Regions from separate parts of the Homo sapiens genome. Here region 1 is linked to region 2. The links are contacts of gene promoters, found by promoter capture Hi-C in blood cells and fetal thymus (Javierre and others, 2016). All regions are on one chromosome and are shown on one strand. Each heading gives the region's core, a stretch centred on a gene start or on the middle of the fragment in contact. The rest is flanking DNA. Distances are from core to core; before and after follow the strand shown. Region 1 overlaps TTK (TTK protein kinase). Region 2 holds the start of ELOVL4 (ELOVL fatty acid elongase 4).

Region 1 (5,010 bases), core at 2,085-4,584, 95 kb before region 2:
TAGCACTATCACTATTTTCATTCAATATTAAAATATATTAGTGCACTCAAAAAAAGAAAGAAGAAAAAGGAACATAATTTAGTAATAAACAAATGGAGCACCCCTATGTCTGATGTGATGATCCTACATGTGATGACTATTTATATAGAAAACCCTGGAACCTTTAGGTTAATTAGGAAAATAAAAATCTTAGCAAGGTGGCTAGCTGTTAAGTTCAATACGCAAAAATCAATTACACTCCCTGATGAATTGCAAAAATAAAATTAAATTAAAAAACCAATTATGGTGCTATAAAAGAACAGAAAATTAAGAAAGGTAATTTTTAAAAGATACTATTTACAACAGCAACAGAGCTTTTGTAATAAAGCCGACAAAAGATGTGAAAGACCTGTATAAAAAAAGTATAAAGTTTATTGAATTGTAAGAGAAGACCTAAATAAATTGAGAACTATATCATGTTCATTGATAGGAAGACTCATATCATAAAATGGCAATTATCTCTAAATGACCTAAATGTTCTATGAAACTATAAATACAATCTCGATATGATTTTTAAAATTATTTTATTTATTGTATTTTTTGTATTTACCTCCTGGAGGCAGGAGCTCACTCTGTCACCCAGGCTGGAGTGCTGTGGCATAATCATAGCTCATTGCAGCCTCAAACTCCTGGACTCAACTGATCCTCCTGCCTCAGACTCCCAAAAAGGTAGGACTATAGATATGCTGCACCACCACACCCAGCTAATTGTTTTTTATTTTCATTTTTTGCAACTAATGGATCTGATTATGTAGCCCATGTTGGTCTCAAACTCCTGGCCTCAAGGACTCTCCCTGCCTCAACCTCTCAAATTGTTGGGATTCCTAGCATGAGCCACCACCATGCCTGGCCTCAACATGATTATTTTGTGTATGGAATTTACTGAACTGATAAAATTGATATGAATGCTCAAGGGGCCAAAAATAGCCGATACTCTCCTAAAAGTATATTCAACACATTAACTGATTCTGACTATAGGTAATTGTAATACAAAGAACACTTATAAAGAAATAAAAAAAGGTAATACAAAAATAAATATGACATGAAACATATGAATACCAGAGAGTAAGAACCTGGCTTTTCAGTGATAGAAAGAAAAAAAAAAAACAAAAAAGAATGGTCAATAAACATATGGCAAAATGCCCACCCTCATTGCTAAACAAAAAATTAAAGACACTGCAAAAATACTATTTTATACCTATGAGACAGCAAAAACCTTTAAATTCTGACAATATTAAGTATAAAAGATGTTGTATGTAGACCAATGAGTTCTTAATACTGATAGTGGGAATATAAATTGGCATGAATTTTAGTTTTTCAAATTAGTGGGAAATTATGGAATCCAAACATTAATGAAGATGAGAACCCAGAGAGGTAAGCACAACAGAGCATTTGTCTTTAGAAGAAACATCTGTGAAACTGAGGTATAGGTTTGGCAACCTGGTAGAGTATGATAAACGACTCAAAATCCAGGAACTTCCTAAGGAGGAAAGACACACCTGACATTTGCTTTAAGCTGGAACCAGAAGGGCTGACCTCCCTGGACAAGTGTCCTCTAGAAATAAACCAAGTGGATTTTAACCTGATTTTGCATCACCTGGTTCTGAGAACCTCAAGCTTTGAACTTGGAATATTCTAGCCCTAGGTAAGCCTCTGGGATCTGGTATAAGCAAGCAAAAATCTTCTCTGCATTTGGAAATCCATCTTTGGAAGACGCCATTATAGGAAACCTCATATGCTTGCTTTTTTTCCCTCAAGTACCATGACTAGTACAAAGACAAAGATAATATTCCACACACAAAATAATCACAACATGATTATTTTGTGTGTGGAATTTAATGAACTGATAAAATTGATATGAAAACTCCAAGGGCAAAAAGTAGCCAATGCTTTCCTAAAAATGTATTTTCAAAACATTAACTGATTCTGACTATAGGTTAGTAATTGTAAAACAAACAAGACACTTTCATCAAGAACCCATTGAAGCAATAGACAAAACGATGCTTTTCCCCATAAGAGAATTTCTAACTCTAAACAAGTATTAAAAAAAATTGTTTATATGCACATTAAATTTCAAGATAATTTTAAAAAGAAAAAAATCAACAGTATTCTCAATGAACACATGTAGACAAATGCCTGACTTCCAAGTTGAATTTTTACCATGTTTTCTCTATAAGTGTGGTTTGCAGAATTCCTGTTTAAGCTTACTACTTACCTATTACACTACATTAACTTAAAACCAATAATTCTGAAAACTAATAACCATAGTTACAAATTTGGGAATGAAGAGAATGAGAAGAAATGCCACAAGTGGGAGAATATATGTGCAAAAGACATCTGATAAAGGACTGTTATTCAAAATACACAAAACTCTTAAACCTCAATAAGAAAATGAACCAATTTAAAAATGGGCAAAAGAAGATACACAGATGCAAATGAGCATATAGAAATGAGATGCTCAAAATCATGTCATTAGGGAAATGCAAATTAAAATGAGATACCCCTACCAACCCATTAGAATGCCCCATATCCAAAACACAGACATCAAATGCTGGAAAGGATATGGAGCCACAGGAACTCTGAAACATTGCTGGTGAAAACGCAAAACAGTACAACCACTTTGGAAGACAGTTTGGTGCTTTCTTACACAACTAAACACTCTTACATAGATTTTAGCAGTTAAACTCCTTGGTCCCAAAGGAGTATTTAGCCAAAAGAGCTAAAAAAAATTAGGTCCAGACAAAAGCATGCACATAGCAAGTTTATTCACAATTCCCCAAATTTGGAAGCAACCACGGTATCTTTCAGCAGATAAAGAGATAAACTGTGGAACATCCAGACAATAGAATATTAACTAGTGCTAAAAAGAAATAAGCTAGCAAGCCATAAAAAGACATGTTGCTAAGTGAAAGAAGCCAATCTGAAGAGGCTATAGACTGTATGATTCCACTTACGTGACGGTCACATTCTGGAAAAGTAAAACTACAGAGATAGTAAAAAGATCAGTGGTTCCCAGGCATTAGGGTAGAGGGAAGGATGAAGGGACAAAGAACAGAGGACTTTCAAGACAGTGAAACTATTCTGTATCATGTTACAATGGTAGATAAATGTCATTAAATATTTATCAAAACCTAAAGAATATACAATACCAAGAGTGAACCCCAATATAAACTATGGACTTTGGGTGATAATATGTTAAGGTAGGTTTACGGACTGTGATAAATGTACCATTGTGGTGTGGAATGTTGATATGGTGGATGCTGATAGCAAGGGAAGTTATACATGTGTGGGGGTGGGGTGGGGAAAGGATACATGGGAACTCTGTACGTTCTGGTCAATTTTGCTGTGAACTTAAAACTGCTATAAAAAATAAAATCTCTTAAAATCTTTTTTTAAAAATTGAGAAAAGGATGCTATGTGAGGATACTTTAAGCTATCAGATTCAGTCAAGAGACTCTGGGGCCACATTTACAATTATCCATTACCTAGCAAGTCATACAGTGAGGGCATGCCCTATACAGCTTACAACACAGAATCCAGCATGATATTCTAAATACCAAAAACAACAGACGTTATGAATATCTGAAAGAGCCAAGTTCAGTCCTAAAATTATAGACTGTTATCGGTGCCGGAAATAATTAGGAAGTCTATTTTGGAATTCAAACCCTTCAGGATTTGTTTTTCAAAGTTCATTTACTAAGGTCTAGTCTCACATCTTCCCTAATCTACTTTTTACTAATTAAGAATTTTGCTGCCATGCCAACAATACATTTGCTTAAAGAAAACAACCTTACAACTTTGAAATGTTAGTGTCATTTTAGCCACAAAACTTTATTTACAAAGTTTTTTAGAATATACTTGCTATCCACCCACTATTCCAAGAGTAAAATGATGTCAAGTAGATTACACAAGAGCATAAAACAGAGAAAACAAGTCTACAATATATACAGTGCCATAAGTGGTTGCTATTTTTACAGTTTTCTTTTAAAGATAATCTACTGAATTTTTTTTGCTGATAACACTTCAGAGTGATGTTGTCTTCAAATGTAGATTTCCACAGGGATTCAAGAGTATAACAGTCCAATATATTTTATAGGTGGTATCTGACATTACGAATAACTGCAAATCATTTTTTTCCCCTTTTTTTTTCAAAAGTCTTGGAGGATGAAGAATTATGACTTTCACCACCACTATAGTGTTCATATAAAGTCTGAAATTAAAAAACACAAATCTGTTTTGCAATTTTTTAGTTAAATGTACTGTCACATCAGTAGATGTATTTTGATGTATTCTAAATATAATACATTTATTTCTCTCTTGTTCTTACAGTTGGGAAATTATTTTATAAACTATTAGAGATAATAAAGAATTTTAAACACGAAGCTTGGCCTTAAGCATTACCTATCATGAGATATAACTCAATCTTTCTATGAGAGAAATATAACAGAGCTACTAATAAACATACATATGAGCCTTCAAGGCCTTCTTTATCTCTTTACTTTTTCTTAAATAAAGCCAGTCTTAGGTAAATTCCTATACAAAATATATTTATTAGGAAACTTTATATTCTCAGATGATAATAAGCTAATAAATAGAAGACATTACAAATTATATAAATATAATAATTAGATATATATTAAAATCCATGTATTTAAAAATGATTTAAGACTCAGCTAACATCTAACTTATGAAGATGGCAGACATCTTTGCCCTCAAGGAACATACAACTTCAGTTATAAAAATAATCCACCTCAACTATAGCTATAAGAGGCTTTGAATAATATATTAGTATAAACTTAAAACATGGAGATACAAAATACAGAGCAATTACAAAACAAATTTGGTCCACTTTTAATTACTAAATCCATTGATTTAGCCATTAGCATTTGAGAAAATTTAAGAAAACAGGTACCTCATATCATATAAATGCAAATATAGTGAATATATAGTAAATTCCTTCAAAAAATGTAT
Region 2 (4,841 bases), core at 297-2,796:
CATCACTGTAAATGAATGGGTATTTATCCACTCCCTAAATGAAGAGACTTGACTGGATTTCTTTTTTTTATATAGCTACTAGAATCTGTTACACATAATTTAGGATTGAGACTTGAGAAATTGTCATTCCAATCCAGAAAACTTTAGATTTGCAAATATATTTGACAAATTAATAAATTAACATTTTATTTGGTTAATTTCAAGAATAGGGCATTTAAAGAAGTCTGTGTTTGCTTTAGTTCGGCAATAAAGTTCCTGCCACTCACAATAATCCTTATTATTCTCTGAAAGACATGTTATATTTTTGTCATCATAAATATTTATTAATTACTGTTTATAGCACTGGGTTAGGTACTCATCAAGCAACCAAAAATAATTCTTACCATCTAGGATGCTTCCAATATAAAATATAGACAATATATAACCAGGTCAATTGGGAAATAGATCATTTCAGTATGATAAAAGATAGTATTCACATTAACAGTGTGAAAGGGCAGGAACAATAAGACACTTGACTCACTGGTCTTTAAAATGTAGCATCCAAAATGAGCAAGTGGAGAAAAGGTTAAACAAGTAGGTGACACATTTAAAAAACAAGTAGATGAAAGGACTATTCTCAAAAATCTTGTTTTATGTGAGAAACCATCAAATTATGAATTCCAAGTACTGTATTTTTTTTACTTTTCAAGGGTAGGCTCTCCTATACCTTATCTAAACAATTTTTCAAAATAGCCACAATTACTTTGTTTTCCTCTCTACACTAAATTGCCCTTTGCCTCTTGAGCGATTATCTTTTTCAGATTCACCTCAACTTCTTCAGGTTCAAGCGGACTTCACCTGTAAGCCCCTCTCGGTTCTCCCTCTTCTCTGAACTACTAATGGCCTAATTTAGCACAATTATATTGCTTTGTTCATTCCATGTATAGTAAAAGAGTCTACAAAACACATGCAAGCATTCATGCAATTATATGTTGATTTGTTCATGGGTCGACCCCAAAGTCTATTCTCCATCGCTGAAGCATGGAAGACAAATACCCTTCACTTCTTCAGAGGCATAACACATGCACTTCTCTTGTCATGGTGACAGGCATGTGCTGGTGGAGGTCAAAGAAACAGGAACACAAGTGAAATCGAGGTGAGTGTCAGGTAAGGACCAAAGCACCACGCCTACCTCATCTTTGCCCACAGAACACCCATTCTTCCCGTGTCCTGTTTCCCAGGACGTATCCGGGGCGGATAAGAAATCACCCGTGGGGAGGCGGTGAACTCCTCCGCAGGGGCCGATGCCCGGGACAGGGGCGGGGAAGGCTAATGAGGCGACTTGTGCGGGGAGGGGCCAAGGAGGAGCCCAGGTGTCCCGCTCCCGCTCGACGGCGCGCGCCTGCGCGAGCCCAGTTGGCGTCGCACCCTTGAGCGCAGCATCCCTACGCCAGCGAGTCCCAATACTAGGGAGGGAGGGAGGGAGGAGGGGCGGCCGGCCCCCCGCCCCCGCGCGCGGCCACGTGACGCCGGCTGAGGAGATTGGAGGGGCGGCTGCGCGAGGCTGCAGACTGGTGCAGCGCACTGTGCTGGCGGCTGGGCCTCCTCCACCTCCTCGTCTTTCTCCCGGGAACCTTGACGACGCCTTCCGCTTGGCCCTGCCTTCTGCCGCATCCCCGCCGCCGCGGCGCCTTGAGGAGCAGGAGAAGACGCAGCCGGGCCGCCGCCGTTAGAGGGGTTCCCGGCCGCCGCTCGCCCCGTCGGCCGCCACCGCCTCCGGGGTCAGCCCTCTCTCTGGGTCTCCGCTTTCTCCTGCCGCCAGCGCCCGCTCATCGCCGCGATGGGGCTCCTGGACTCGGAGCCGGGTAGTGTCCTAAACGTAGTGTCCACGGCACTCAACGACACGGTAGAGTTCTACCGCTGGACCTGGTCCATCGCAGGTAAAGCCGCTGACTTCCCCATCCTCGCTCGGTCCCCCGCGGGGGGTCACCGGCCCCTGGTCTCGCAGCTCCCGGGCCCGGCCCCACAGGCCCCCGCGCCCTGCGGCTTTCGGATGCTGCGGATCAGCGGAGGGGCCGGCGCGGGCACTGCGGTTGAGCACTGGTTAATCTGATCCGAATGTTAAGGCCTCCCCTCCCCCGACACTCGCAGGGTTTTCTTCTGAGCTCCCTCCATCTCTCATCAGCTCTCGGATGCGGGAGCTGACATATCAGATGGAGCCTGTGCAGCCAGGAGCTCCTCGCAGGAGCCGCCCCACCCTGTGCTCCCACATCTCCCGAGCTCGCCTCCCTCTTCCCCGTGCACAGGATTCCTTTTAACATTTAGTCCTATTTTGTATGGAGAGCGGGCTGGGGAGGAAGGAGGGCTTCAGGGGCAGCTGAAGGTACAGGAGGTTTCTTCAGCCTCCTGGTCGCTTTGACAGAACCCTGCTAATCTTTTCTTCTATCTAGCTCCTTCATCTATAGTATAATTCGGACTGAAAAGTAAAATAATATTGTTTGGCTCCTTGAACCTTGAAGAATGTTAGTTTCCGAGGCATTTTCAACAGCAAATATGTTTGAAGTGATTGTCTATAATGGCTTTGCGCACTGCAGTGCAGTCAGGGGGAGGGGGAGGCCAAAACACCGGGGAAGAAATCAGTCTTTAGGAAGGGGGTCTCTACAGCAACACCTAGAGGTTGTCCCAGATGCCTACATATATACAGTTCTTAAATCAGCAAACTTTTCTTTAGCTGTTGCAGTTAATTTGGCAGGGCTGTCAATTGTTTGATTTATGCAGCTTTCCTAGCGTCCAACTGTGATATTATATTTTTACATTGTACTGTTTATTTCTTCATTTGCTTCGCTGCTTTTGATTTTAAAGCATTTAAAAGTCTTTGAAATCTAAAATAAGGTTTAAAGGATTTCAGAAATGATTTTACGAGGTCAATTTTTCTGGTCCTTTTGCAGTATCACACTGCATCCTATCAGTGAAGGATATTAACGTTCCATCTTATGACTCTGCCTTCCCTACTTCGAAATGAAAATGTACTCCTGTAGTTTTTGTGTTCATTGTTGTTAGAGGAAATTAGACAGTGGTTACAGCATGAATGTAGTCCGATACATAGGGCTTATGTTTTGGGAAAAACGTATGCTGGAATTATTTTTGTGAGAGACAAAATGATTATTTGGCATTAATACTGCATTCACTTCTTTAGAAAAGTATGTTCTTTTTCAGAAGATCTCAACTTTGACACTGGGAAATAAGCTATTTAATAAGCCATTACAGCTGAAAATGGTTAAAAGGCAGTTTTCAATGGAGTGTTTCTTCAGTTTTTTTTTTTGTTTCTATGCGCTATTACACTGATGTTACACTGTACCTGCAAAAACTGGGAAAGATGTGCCCTTCCCTTCACGTCTGTGATTTCGGTTCTTTAAACGTTGCATCAGGGCTTCCCATTACACAATTGTATAGAGCTGAACATCAGACAAGTTCTTTAGCAGGTAATTGCACTTCGCACACCTAGGAGTCAGACACTGTTGAGATACTCCAGTCTCCATATAGCCAGAGCCACACCCAGGAGTTCTCGGTCCTGTCATTCCTATCCTATCCCGGAGCTTTCCCATCTCTTGAGTCTCAGAAGGAAAAATTGAGGGCAAAGGTAGAATACACCTTTCTGTGATGGTGAATTCCTTCCTGATGATGTTTGTGTAAAAGAAACCACACACACACAAATGAAACAGGAAATTTTGTGCAGTTGCCGCATGTGAAAGCTTGCTACTAGGCTTCGAAGGGCATATAAAATAATATAATATTGTGGGCCAAGCCTGAGAAGTGAGAGTAGCCTTAGAACACAAGTGACCTCTCACTAGCAGGCCGAAGGAAGGTATTTGCCTATGCTTTGACTATCCACTTACGAAACCTGAGACTGCTTCCTTGCTTTCTGTAATGAGCTACCTTATGTAGGCAGATGGTATTTCTTAACCAACAGAGAGGCTTAGTGGATATAGTCTGTTCTGCTGTACTGCTGTGTGAGGAGGAGTATTTTTCAGGTCCAGGCCGAATAGACCTGAAGTCTGTGGTGTCCCATTTACGTTTACTCTCCCTCATTCTATGCCCCTCGTGTTCCTTTTTTTTTTTTTTTTTTTTTTTTGGACTCATTCACTCTGCTCTGATTCCACCTCTCAGCATAATTTGATGAAAATCTGGGTGGGGGATATCAAAATAGAAAAGTAGCTTATAAGATGAGGTTAAACAAAAGTTGGTGAGTCAAATGTTTGGAAAGAAGGGGAAACAGAAATGGGCGGGATAGAAAGATGGTCTTGAGAAATAGTGATGAGTGTGGTGAAAGGATGCAAATTATTGAGGGAGAGCAAGAAATGAGGTAGGCTCCTTGTCCTTGGCTGCTCTCATTCCTAGTGCTGTAGTTACATGCTTCTTTCATTCTTTTATTAATTCATTAAATGCCATTTTGTGCTATTATATCAAATGGTGCTTTAAATATCCAAACATATCCAAAGCAATGTCTGAAAACTGGGCTTTTCAGAGGCACATATGTAGCAAATACAAAATATGGTCCATAATAATGTTAACAACAAAAATGTTACTTTTACTACAGTATTAACACTTTGTACATTGGAATTGAAAGTTTGAAAGAGCTATACTTTTAGAAAAACAACAAAAATAATTTTTATTTCTCTGTATTTGTAGACATTTTGAACGAGGAAATTAGCGTTGGTTTATGTTAAAGTATAGGCTGGTGTAGGACTTTATACTAGTTGTTAGTATTAGAGTAGGTATTCCATGTCATCATGTTAGTTTTTTTCTTCTATTCTTTCACTTCATGAGTACATTTAAATTATTAGGATTGGAGTCCTAGGCTC

What was found. The method cuts DNA at HindIII sites, captures the fragments that hold promoters and counts their contacts. A CHiCAGO score of 5 or more calls a contact.
Region 1: a contact is called between a fragment that was not itself captured here and the fragment with the promoter of ELOVL4 in region 2, in 1 of 17 cell types (fetal thymus). The highest score is 8.4, in fetal thymus.

The regions. Positions count from the first base shown.
Region 1 is chr6:80,041,358-80,046,367 of GRCh38, reverse strand. It overlaps TTK (TTK protein kinase), which reads right to left. Exons shown (of 22, transcript NM_003318.5): 22 at 3,841-4,249. The coding sequence ends at 4,166. Among named protein-coding and RNA genes, the nearest start is that of TTK, 39 kb to the right of the region's middle. The HindIII fragment of the contact is 2,180 bases long and covers 2,245-4,424 here.
Region 2 is chr6:79,944,258-79,949,098 of GRCh38, reverse strand. ELOVL4 (ELOVL fatty acid elongase 4) reads left to right here and starts at 1,546. Exons shown (of 6, transcript NM_022726.4): 1 at 1,546-1,919. The coding sequence starts at 1,820. LOC124901350 reads left to right here. Exons shown (of 2, transcript XM_047419628.1): 2 at 1,088-1,712. The coding sequence starts at 1,284. The coding sequence ends at 1,712. It overlaps LOC124901351 (a long non-coding RNA gene), which reads right to left and starts at 1,294. Exons shown (of 3, transcript XR_007059656.1): 1 at 1,172-1,294. RefSeq lists a silencer at 1,437-1,486. The HindIII fragment of the contact is 8,446 bases long and covers 1-3,733 here.